2 separate regions of the Homo sapiens genome follow, and region 1 is linked to region 2. Evidence: promoter capture Hi-C in human tissues and cell types (Jung and others, 2019). All regions are on one chromosome and are shown on one strand. Each heading gives the region's core, a stretch centred on a gene start or on the middle of the fragment in contact. The rest is flanking DNA. Distances are from core to core; before and after follow the strand shown.

Region 1 (6,238 bases), core at 2,241-4,740, 57 kb before region 2:
AGCTGGGTGTGGTGGCACGTGTCTGTAGTCCCAGCTACTTGGGAGGCTGAAGTAGGAGGATGGCTTGAACCTGGAAGGCAGAGGTTGCAATCAGCCAAGATCATGACACTGTACTCCAGCCTGGGTGACAGTGTGGAGAGAGGAAAAAAAAAAAACAGGCCAGATGCGGTGGCTCACGCCTGTAATCCCAGCACTTTGGGAGACTGAGGTGGGTGGATCACCTGAGGTCAGGAGTTCGAAACCAGCCTGGCCAACATGGTGAAACCCCGTCTCTACTAAAAATACAAAAATTAGCTGGGCATGGTGGTGCGGGCCTGCAATCCCAGCTACTTGGGAAGCTGGGGCAGCAGAATCGCTTGAGCCCAGGAGGCAGAGGTTGCAGTGAGCTGAGATGGCGCCACTGCACTCCAGCCTGAGCAACAGGAGCGAAACTCCATCTCAAAAAAAAACACACACACACACACACAAACACATACACAGAAATTGCCAAAGCCACCCCAAACTTCAGCAACTACCACCCGAATCAGTCAGCAGCCATCATCATCAAGTCAAGACCCTCAAGCAGCAAAAGGTTATGACTTGCTGCAAGTTCAGATGATAATTTGCATTTTTACCAATAAGGTATTTTAAAATTAAAATAAGCACATTTTTTAGACATTATGCTGTTGCACACTTAATAGGCTACACTATAATATAAACATAACTTCTATTTGCACTGGGAAACCAACAAATTTGTGTGACTCTCTTTATTATAATGTTAGCTTTATTGTATTTTGCCCTAGTGGCAGCACTATCACAAGCATTTTATGTACCAGTACTGCTCAGGTATTTACTGAGGTTAGTTCTAGGTTTCTTCATTTAAATGAGCTAAGGTTTGTAAGATGTTATATTTTAAATGATGATGGGAGATACAGAGAAAGGAAGAATATTAATAAAAATAAATGGATGGATGAGGGAAAGGGGGGTAGGATTTATTTACTAACAGACTATTTGGTTTTTATGTTTACACAGATGGACCTTAGGACTTATGCTATTATCGATCACAACAGCTAAAAAGCATTTCTTAAGAAGGCTTATACTCTCCAAAATAAAACCAATCTAAAATTGACAATTTCACAAGAAGAAAAACAGCACTGGTCTGGAAATTAAAAGACCTACGTCTGTGTACTGGACGCTTGCTGCCTACTAGCTGGTGGCCCTGGGCCAGTCACTCTACTAAGCCACTCCAGCAATGATGTATACTGAACACATTCCAAAGGGGTCTCTGGTGGTTTGGTGGGGAAGTCCTACACTTCACTACTTGAAGATGCAATAAATGAATGAATACAAGGGAAGGCAAAGTGACTAGAGAGAAGAGAAGGTTCAATAGTCTCTATTTAAACTCATCTAAGGTTTTTATATAGTCATGCAGGAAACTAAGTTCAGGCACTACGTTTAGTGCCTGAAACCTTATTACTTACATTCTAAACCCTTACATAGCTGGGTACCAGCTGGTCATATTTACTGGCAGGCTACTGAATAGTCTTCACTACTATAATACAAGAATGAATAACATAGCTCTACTTCCCCAACTCTGATTAATGCCAAGTTTGACGTTTGAAGGTATATCTGTGTTAAGAGGAAGCCGCTTTTCAAAGTGCCTACTGGAAAACCATGCTTCCTAAAAGACTTAGGCTTAGAAGTGGCTGCACACTGCTCTCCTTAAAGATCTGTACACAAGGACACATTTTCAAACTGGCAGAAGAGCCACTTTTCCTTCAAAAACAAAAATACTTTTCTATTTGGTATCTAGTACAATATAATCTTTGAAACAGGGGCCAGATCATAATATAGTTGTAGCACAACTAGAGAAAAATGAAGGCACAGCAACTGGTATAAACAATGAAAGTGACGGGAAGGCATGAACAGAACATTTGAAAACTTTTTTCTGTGGAATAGAAAACGATATGTAACATCTTACTTCACACACATTCTTACTCATCCTTTCAATGCTCAAACTTAAACCATCTCTGCATATATAACAGCAATAAAACACTATCAGTATTTTGTATGATGAAGAAAAAGGATCAAGTATTTAGTGAAGTATTCTAAAGCAAGGGTCTAAAAACTACAGCTCATAGGCCACATCTGGCCTACAGCCTGTTTTTAGAAACAGTTTCACTGGAAGACATCAACCCTAATTATTTATTTATTTATTCATTTACTTTTAGACGGAGCCTCAGTCTGTCATCCAGGCTGGAGTACAATGGCACGATCTCGGCTCACTGCAACCTCCACCTCCCGGGTTCAAGCGATTCTCCCACCTCAGCCTCCCAAGCAGCTGGGATTATAGGCACCCGCCATCACACCCAGCTAATTTTTGTATTTTTGAAGAGACGGGTTTCACCATGTTGACCAGGTTGGTCTTGAACTCCTGACCTTAAGTGATCTGCCCACCTCGGCCTCCCAAAACGCTGGGATTACAGGCGTGAGCCACCATGTCCAGCCCCTAATTAGTTTATATTGTCTGTTCATGCTAAACAGTAGAGTTGAAGAGTTACAACAAAAATCATACAGCCACAAAGCCTAAAATATCTGGCCCTTTAAGGAAAAAGGTTCAGCCAGGCATGGTAGCTCATGCCTCTAATCCTAGCACTCTGGGAGGCCAAGGCGGGAGGATCACTTGAACCCAAGAGCTCGAGATCAGCCTGGGCAACATAGTGAGACCCCCATCTCAATAGAAAATAAAAAATAAAAAACTAGCCAGGTGTAGTGGCCCACACCTGTAGTCCCAGCTACTCACGAGGCTGAGGCGGGAGGACTGCTTGAGCCTGGGTGGTCAAGCCTGCAGTGAGCCATGATTGCGCCACTGCACTCCAGCCTGAGCAGGAACAGCAGAGCAAGATCCTGTCTCAAAAAAAAAAGAAAAGAAAAGAAAAAGTTTCAGATAATATTCTGATCTTGTTTTAAAGCACTGTTAGGTGTTTTATTTATCCCTGATTTACTGATGGGGAAACTGACACTAGAAGTTGAGAAGCTGGTCCTAGATCACACAACTGTTACTTAGCTCCCCTGCCTCCCTCACCTGTTCATCCTCAATTAGAAGTAAGCTGGGCCAGACCCCCTCTGCCCCACAGAAGTATCTGTTAGTCTCTCTGACCCTCCAGCCTAACGAGTAAATAAATCCTTGTAGGAAGAATGGTGAGTAACTGGTTTTTCAGGCCTCAATCCCGAAAAGGAATTGTGACATGAGCTAGAGACAGAAAGAGTGCCTGTAGCCTAAGTTAAGTTGTATTCTAAAACAAAGCATCATTTTCTTACCGGGTGCCTTCTGAGATTCACAAACAGCCTCTTGCCCAGTTTCTGGCAGTATCCTGTGTTTGTGTGTCTAGCAGAGGGAAGAAGTGTGATTCTGAAGAATGTTTCATAGATGCCAACTTACGGGCTTCAGAGTTCATAAAATACATGCCACATACATCATCCTCAATTGACCCTTACTTAGCTCAGTGATAAATTTACCAATATTATTCCAATTTTACAGATAAGGTTGAGGGTTGAATATCAAATTACTTGCTCAAGATCACAATACAATAAATGATGAGTCAAAATGCAAAAGCTCTAAAATTCTGTCTTGATTTATTATAACTTGCTCTTTCCCACTTTTTGCACTGTTTAAGCTGTCACTCTTTTTTCTTTTCTGTTTTATCCTTCCCCTTTGCATGTCTCTAGGCAGGTTAGCAGCACCTATGAATACTCAGCTGCGAACAGTTGGGGGCACTAAAGCACGAGGTAAATACATAAATAAATAAAATGTATTGGACCTGGGGGTTCTTAGCTCTCTGGCGAACTGTGATCTTGAGCAAATCTCTTAACTTCTTAGAAACTTCTCTATTCATCTAAAGCAACATCCCACAGAGCAGCTGAAACACACAAATGGTAAAACACATGTTAGAAGGCCTCAAAAAATAGCAAGCTTCATACAAATGCCAGATGGCATCATATCATCATGGCTGCCTGAAGCTAGACAAGACACCAACTACTGGTCTGAAGAGTCCCAGATACAGTACCGAGCCTAAAGACCAACTAGCTTCTTTTTCTCTATAATTTAGACTTACTTTGCTTTTGACATATTTCTTTAAAAAGCCTAGTTTCAGATGCATGGAAATACATATTAAAATAGAGAAAGATGTTCTCCTATCTCTTTTATAAACATGAAATAATTTTTAAGCCCTTTAAACTATTAAATTTGGAACAAATGTACTAGTTCCAAAAAAGCAAAGAATTCAAGCTGAACATGGGAACGTTCCAAATTTAAATCCTTGGGTGTGTCAATGATCAATAGCTATACTAGGTTTTCTCTCCACACTAATCCAAAAACATTTAAATTCTTTTTTTAAATTAATTATTTATTTATATATATTTTTTGGGATGGAATCTCACTCTGTCACCCAGGCTGGAATGCAGTAGCATGATCTTGGCTCACTGCAAGCTTCGCCTCCCGGGTCCACACCATTCTCCTGCCTCAGCCTCCCAAGTAGCTGGGACCACAGGTGCCCACCACCACGCCTGGCTAACTTTTTTGTATTTTTAGTAGAGACAGGGTTTCACCGTGTTAGCCAGGATGGTCTCCATCTCCTGACCTCCTGATCCGCCCACCTTGGCCTCCCAAAGTGCTGGGATTACAGGCATGAGCCACCGCGCCCGGCCTTCAATTCTTAGAATATGTCTCCTTGGGCTGGGAACGGTGGCTCATGCCTGTAATCTCAGCACTTTGGGAAGCCAAAGCAGGAGGATCGCTTGAGCCCAGGAGTTCAAGATCAGCCTGGGAAACATAGAAAGACCTCGTCTCTACAAAAAAGAAAAAAAAATTAGCCTGTGTGGTGGCACGCACCTGTAGCTCCCGCTACTCAGGAGGCTGGGGCAGGAGGATCACTTGAGCCGAGGAGCTGGGAGACTGCAATGAGCCATGATTGCACTACTGCACTTCAGCCTGGCAACAGAGTGAGACCCTGTATCAAAAAAAAACCCCAAAAAAACCCACAACCACCACCATCTCCTTGGATACCTAAGACTTCCACAAGCTAGGAGTACGTGCCTGTTTTGTCTTGTGAAAGGAATCTTGTTTATGTTAGAGGGTAGAGGAAACCTGGAGTCCAGGCAGCTCCCCACTCAACCTGGCCCCACCATCCAAGCAAAAGATTCTGTTTGGAGCTCTAAAGAGAGCTCCACCCACTTCCATCTATATCCAACATCCTGAAGTGAACATGAAGGAAACATGTTCTGGAAAGTTGGAATTTCTCAGACTATCTCATGGGTTGAAACCAATGTTTAAGGCTCTTCTGCAATAGCATTGATAAGAAGCTTGCCTTTACAGTACAAATGTAAAGAAATTAAACACTGTCTACACATTCACTAATCAGTGATGATAAATTTTTTTTCTCCCCAAGAAACCATTCCTGGCACACAATCAAATCTATTTCTCTAATTAGCATATTCACTTGCTTCAGACTTGTGTAACATGTTCTCTTTTTTTAGGGGGCATATTATTTTTTAAGCTTAAATTTTTCATGCTCCTATTTTTTCCCCCGTTTGTAAGACAAACATAATCATTTTGTTTCTGATACACCCTCAAGGCAAATATGCCTTGCACATAGTGGGGATTCAATACACATCTACTGAATGAACAAACACAGGTTCCTCAAGAACTTAAAAAAAAATTTTTTTTAAATAACAGTGTCTTGCTCTGTTGCCCACGCTGGAGTGCAGTGGCGTAATCATGGCTCACTGAAGCCTCAACCTCCTGGGTTCAAGTGATCCTCCCCTGCTCAGCCTCCTGAGTAGCGGGGACTACAGGTGCTTGCCACCATACCTGGCTAATTTTTAAAATTTTTTGTAAAGACAGGGTCTTGCTATCTTGCCCAGGCTGGTCTCAAACTCCTGGGCTCAAGTGATCCTCTCACTTTGGCCTGCCAAAGTGCTGGGATTACAGATGTGAGCCACCATGCCTGGACAAGAACTATTTTAAGACCCCAAGTATCCTTGGCCTCATTCTAGGTACTTTTCTTTGAAATGGGAAAATTCCTTCTTAAGTATCTGTGCTCAGTTGTGCAGTAACCTTTGTGCAGTAATCCAATGGAAGAGCCACAAGAGTGGGGTTGGAGAAAAACTTGTTCTACTTTGGAAAATGTAGACAATTATCTAATCATCGGCTCCACTGAAAAATGGGAGATTGTGCTGGTGACTTAATACATCTAAAAAC
Region 2 (6,108 bases), core at 1,150-3,649:
CAGGGTTTCACCATGTTGGCTAGGATGGTCTCAATCTCTTGATCTTGTGATCCGCCTGCCTCGGCCTCCCAAAGTGCTGGGATTACAGGTGTGAGCCACCGCCCCCGGCCACAAGTTTTGTATTTTTTTATAGAGACAAAGTTTTGCCATGTTGCCCAGGCTAGTCTCAAGTGATCTGCCCGCCTCAACCTCCCAAAGTTTTGGGATTACTGGCATGAGCCACTGTGCCGGGCCTGAAGTGCTATCTTTATCATACATTGAATTCCCTTGTGGGGCTGGATCCATTTCCATACTCCATTTTGTTCCACAGATCGGTCTAGTCCTGCTTCAATACCATACTGCTTTAAATACATTGACTTTATAGTATGTTTTAGTATCGGGTAAGACAAATCCCTTTTCATTACTTTTCTTCCTGGACTTTTTATTCCTGTATGTTTATTCTTCTATATACACTTAAGAATCAACCCCCTCTCCACCCACCTCCCATCCAGTCCTTCTGGTAACCAATATAGAACTTTGAAGATACTGAAATTATATGCAAAATATACATTGCACATCTCCAGAGAGATAGTGCTAAGTTTTCATCAGATGTGCAAAGGGAACCCCTGGTTTACCTGTCTCTGTGAAAGGGGCCAGGGAGGAGCACACAGGAAGCCTGATTCCTCTCTGTGCTCCCACCCCTCACCTCCACCCTCGTTCCAGGTCCTGCCCTGGCCTCCATCCCACCTCCCCTAATCTAGTCCCCCTTGCTGCTCCAGAGTAACCCATTCTACCACCCAGGCCCTAGTCCAGGCCTAGGCCTGAGGTAGAATAGCTGATAACAAAGCTTTAATTAATATGTAAATATAATCAGGAGCCCCAGCTCCACCTCTGACCAGCTATGGAACGCACTTTGAGGCTTTTCACATTGTAGGGCCTCAGTTTATGCTTCTCACAGACCAGGTGAGAAGGGAAGGCGTAGGATGACTATGCCTCCTAGCAATCCCCAGGAGGATCCTTTAATCCCAATAATTTTCCTTTTTCTCCCCACCTTCCCACTCCCCATTTACTTTTTTTTGAGACAGAGTTCCCCCTGTCACTCAGGCTGGAGTGCAGTGGTGCGACCTCGGCTCACTGCAACCTCCGCCTCCTGGGTTCAAGTGATTCTCGTACCTCAGCCTCCCGAGTAGCTGGGACTATAGTTGTGTGCCACCACACCTGGCTAATTTTTGTATTTTTAGTAGAGATGGGGTTTCACCATGTTGGCCAGGTTGATCTCGAACTCCCAGCCTCAAGCAATCCACCCACCTTGGCCTCCCAAAACACTGGTACAGGCATGAGCCACCGCACCCAGCTCCCATTTACATTTTAATTCATGCCCTCAGCAGGGAGACTACTGGTTTTACATGCCTCCAGCAAATATTAATTATTCTGTCCTCTCTGTCAGTGGGTGGAATTCAAAACACTGGAGCCCAAGAGTGGAACTGACCAGTCCTAAGCAAGGTTAAATATACAAGTTGGGGCAGGCACGACCCTAGGAAAGACTTCATACAGTATCCTCCCGGGCTGCAGAAGAACCCAGGACTCCAGGAGTCTATTTGGAAGTTTATATAGGCAGATGCCAGGCCCTAGAACAGAGTTTCTCAACCTCAGAAACCTGCTGACATTTCGGGCCTGACAATTCTCTGGCGCAGGGGCTGTCCTGTGCATTGAAGGCGTGTAGCAGCATCCCTGGTCTCTTCTCATGAGACGCCAGTAGCAACCTCCTCGTTGGGAAAACCAAAAATGTCTCCAGACATGGTCGAATGTTCCCTGGGGGGCAAAATCGCCCCAAGTTTAAAACCATTGCTCTAGAAGTAGAGAGCGCAGGGGAAGCAGGTTAACTTGGGCTTCAGGGCCGGCCACTCTACTTCCTTCTGTCTGAAAGGGACATTATAAAGTCTTTCTCTTCATACCAGGCACTTGGGCAAGTCTTTTCTCCTATCTGAGCTTCAGATTTTCCATCTGTAAAATGGACTTGACGTTTGTAAGTCGTTTCTTCTCTTACCATCTGACGTTCCTGGAACTGCTTCAGGGCAGGGCAGGGCAGGGGGCGCCGTGGTGCCTGTGAGGTCCTGGGAGGTGCCCCAAAGAAAAGGAAGGATGAGAAAGAACAGATAGGGTAGGTGGTGGAGAGGGGAGGCCGGGCAGGAGGCAAGAGAGTCCTAGGGACACGGAGAGGAATGAGGCTTCCCCAGACCCCGCTTCTTGGAAGCCTCATTAATGTAGGTCCCCCAACCACAACCCGGCAAGCCAAACTCCCCGGATTCCCCTAGGCCCCGCCCACCACCAAGGTCCGGCCCACTGGCCCCGCCCATCCACGCGGCCCCGCCCCCGGCAGGCCCCGCCTCCCCTTCGCCTCCCGCCGGCCCAAGCTTGGGCTTTGCACCCGGCGGCGACTGAAAACGGTGGCTGCTGCGGAGCCGGCAGCGCAGGCGGGCGGAGCGGAGCTGCCCCCGTGGTGGCGGGCGATGCCCCCGTGAGCCTCCCTCGCCGCCCCTCCCCGCCCCGCGTGCCTATCCACTCGGAGTCCGCGCCAGCCTGGGGCCGGGCCGCGCCTACTGCCGGGTTCGCGGGGCGGGGTCCCGGGGCAGCACCTGCCCCGCCTTGCGGAGCCGCCTCGGCCTGTGGAGGCCCCCTCCCTGTCTGGACCCCGGCCCCACCTCCGGGTAAGTCAGCAGGCCTTGCTCGCCTGGGAGTGGACGTGGGGAGGGGGCTGCAGAGGTCTGGAGGACCACGGGGGGAGGGGGGCTCTGGCCATGAAGCGCAACGTAGGTATGTGAGTGTGCAGGGGCGGGGGTGGGGGGATGAACACAGGGTGTGAGAGGGCTCTGGGGAGGGGACTAAGGGATGAGAGAGGGACGTGGGGTGTTTGGGGAAGCCTGGAAAATGGGGAAGGGGGCCCAGAGTCTTGAGTTCTTTGCTGATGCTCAGAGCTCCTGGGGCCCTGGTCTTCAACAGCATTGCCTGGCATGGCATTTTTGGAAAGTGCTTAAAATCCCTCCTGGAAAGGGAGCTGGAAGGCAGCCTGCTTTTCTCCCTTCTGCCTGTGCCCTGGTTGAGAAGCAGCCACTTTTTCCTCAACGTGACACCGTTGTGGTGTCCAGAGGACCCCCTCCACCCCATAAAAGAAAAGGAGTGCTGCTTACTCCAGCCCTGGGGTGGGAAGAGGGGGCTTTGGGAAGCTGGGAATGCAGTTGGTCAGCAGCATGGTGCAGAGCCCAGGGTTCAGGGAGGCTTGGCAGGACCCTTGATGGGCAACTTGGGCATGCTCTCATTCATAGGGAGGAGCTCTTCCCTGACTGGCCGCCTGGGTACCTGGACTCCATGTCCCCATCACCTCTGGACAACTCAGCCCTGAGGAGTGGGTTTCTTCAGTGTCCTGGTCCTGAAGGCTCAGGAAGGATCCTGGAATGGGGTGGGCAATGGCATATCAAGGCTGGAGAACAGGGGGCATTGGCTGGCACTGCCACTTGGGGCCTGTTTCAATGTGGTCCTTCAGGGCTTGGACACCTGGGTGAATATGTGTCCAACCCTAGCCCCAGGGGTGTTATCAGGATGTAGGGAAGAAGGCTGCTGCTCCTTTGGTCCTGTCCTCTATCCATGATGACTTCTTAAGTCTGGGTTCCTTGGGTTTGGGGCCTGAAGTCATGGGAGGAGGATTGGGCCTGGTCAACAAGGGGTTAATGAGCCATCTCCCCCACCCCACCATAGTTGCTGCCAGCCACCAATTAGTCTGTAATCAGGCAGCTGCCAACTGTCCCTGGGGGCATGTGGGTAGCCTAATGGGGCATTCTTGGTTGGGAGGCGGGGTGGGTGGGTTGGCAGGGATGTGCTGGGGAGGTGACCCATGTGCCCTGTGCTTAAACCAAGCACCATGCCCTTTGTTGTTTGTTTAGGGCCCACAGACCCCTTCCCTGCCTTCTGTTCCTGACTGCCTTGCTTAGGGACTTCCAGCCCTGGGGTTCTACACTTATCCGACCCTTTGCAGGGTATGAAGCCCAGAGTTGGTTAAACTTGGCTTCAAACCCAAGCTCTGCCACTTTCTGGCTGTGTGATATTGAGGAAATCACTTCCCCTCTCTGAGACTCTTTCAGTAAAACAAACCCAGCTGCTATGTGGGTAGCAGGAAGGAGTGAGTGAAATGGTGGATTTGAGCTGCGCAGCACAGTGCCTGGCACTCAGGAGGGCTCAGCAGCTAACTGCTGAACTCATGAGCAACCCCTGTGCCAAGTACTTGCTGGGCGGGCGTGCAGGAGCCAGGTGCTGAGGACCCAGCAGGGACCACGGTCCCTTCTCCCAGGGCATGTGGTCTGTGTCACTGTCTTAACTATTCTCTCTCCCTCCCTCCTTGCTCAACGACGCTTCTGGTCTCTGGACTTTAATTGGATTTTACTGCGCAGAACCCAGGCCTAAAGCTGCTACTCTCTGGGCTTCCCAACTTCCTGCCCAGGTGCTGAGCTCTGTGGGGTCTGTCAGGGGTCTGGGTGATGTCTGCAGCTGCAGTAGCAGCTGGCCCTTTAAGGAGGGAAGAAAACAATTATCTGGCCTGGGCATTGCATCAGCTGGAGCCTGGAGGGTCCCTGGGGAGGGGGGAGCAGGCTGGTGGTTGATTTCATTAGTGCCATGTGAGAACTCTCACCTGCCCCACTCCCCAGCCACAACCTTCTCCCCCAGGCAACAGCTGCCTCAGTGCCTCCTCCCACTCCAGGGGCACCACCTTGGAGAGGTCTCTGTGTGTACCCCCCAGTCAATGTCATGGGCCCCAGAAGAGGAGGGAAGTGTCTCTCACATTGGCCTTTTGCTGACTGTGGCACTGTCTCTCCTGTTAGCAATCTGCTGACTTGGGGTGCAGGGTGCGTCTCCTGTACTGGCATTTTGCTGACGATGGGGGTGTTTCTCCCACACTGGCATTTTGTTGACCCAGGGGAGGAGTGACTTCTACACTGTCCTCACTGACAGTGGGGCTGTCTCCTACACTGGTATATCACTGACCTCACAGAAGAGCTTTACCAGCTGGGGTGTGTGTGAACTGAAGGCGGAGGTTAGAAACAAGTGCTCTCTGGTTGGAGGTGAGCTTGCTGGGAATGGTGAGTCACAGGGGTTGTGTGGTTTGGGGCAGAGAAGAGACCAGGCACTTGGGCATCAGACAGACAGGATTCAAATCTAATGCCTTCCGCTTCCAACCTGTTACCACTTCAGGCAGGTGGCCTCAACTACCAAGTCTCAGTCTCCTCTGGAAAATAGGAATAATTTATACCCATACTTCTCCACCCCATCTGGAATGTGGTTAGGGAATTAACTGTAGTAACCAGATGTATAGTACCTAGTCTAGAGCTGGCAGGGGGAGGGTGCATACTGTATGATGGTTCTCTTCCCTTTGCAAGTTTGGGCTTTTCATAGCTTGAGCTCAAGAAGCCTGGACAAGAAAAGGAGGGTCCGGGAGGAGTGAAGAAAAAAGGAGAAAGAATGCCTGGCCCTCTTGCCTCTGTGGCAGAAGGATGCATTCAGTCCACCAGGTACCTCTGATGTATCAGACTCTATGAGCCAGGCGGCCCCTGCCCTCACGGAGGTGACATTCTAGTGGGGACATGACCCAGAGCAGGTAATTACACATGGCATGTGTGTAGAAAGGAGGGACTTGGGCTCTGGAACCTATCACTGAAGTTGCTCTCCTGCAGTCTGTAATCTGGGAAAGGTTCCTGGAGGTGGCGACATCTTAGCTGAGTCATGAAGGGTGCCAAGGAATTGTAGAGGCGAAGAAGGGATGAGGAAGGGGAACTGTGTGTCTGAGGCCCTGTTGATGGTGAGAACAGGCTTGGCGTGGTAGAGGGAGGGCAGTGTGGGCAGGCCCAGGACAGCCTGGCCCGATTTCCTAGTCTAGCAGGATACTAAAGACTTGGGAATTTATCCTCAGGCCAATGGCAACCCCTAAAGGGTTTTAAGCAGAAAAGGCAAGATCAGATTTCCCCAGAATGTTAGGGTCTATGGCCCTCAGGCAGAGCCTTCTTGGGAGTGACTTTTTGCCCTCTCCTACCCTTTTCCCTGTGCAGCAGCCTCGGTCCCAGGGAACCGGTTGTTTATGTGGCT

What was found. Contacts are between HindIII fragments. The study calls those that stand out against the background at their distance.
Region 1: a contact is called between a fragment that was not itself captured here and the fragment with the promoter of RIMS3 in region 2, in 1 of the 25 tissues and cell types used here (pancreas).

What each region holds. Positions count from the first base shown.
Region 1 is chr1:40,720,337-40,726,574 of GRCh38, reverse strand. All of the region lies in intron 1 of NFYC (nuclear transcription factor Y subunit gamma), which reads right to left. Among named protein-coding and RNA genes, the nearest start is that of MIR30E, 31 kb to the left of the region's middle. The HindIII fragment of the contact is 5,530 bases long and covers 726-6,238 here.
Region 2 is chr1:40,661,973-40,668,080 of GRCh38, reverse strand. RIMS3 (regulating synaptic membrane exocytosis 3) reads left to right here and starts at 2,399. Exons shown (of 8, transcript NM_014747.3): 1 at 2,399-2,687. It overlaps LOC105378675 (a long non-coding RNA gene), which reads right to left. Exons shown (of 2, transcript XR_947238.3): 2 at 405-2,093. RefSeq lists a silencer at 2,254-2,683 and an enhancer at 4,131-4,788. The HindIII fragment of the contact is 12,473 bases long and covers 1,611-6,108 here.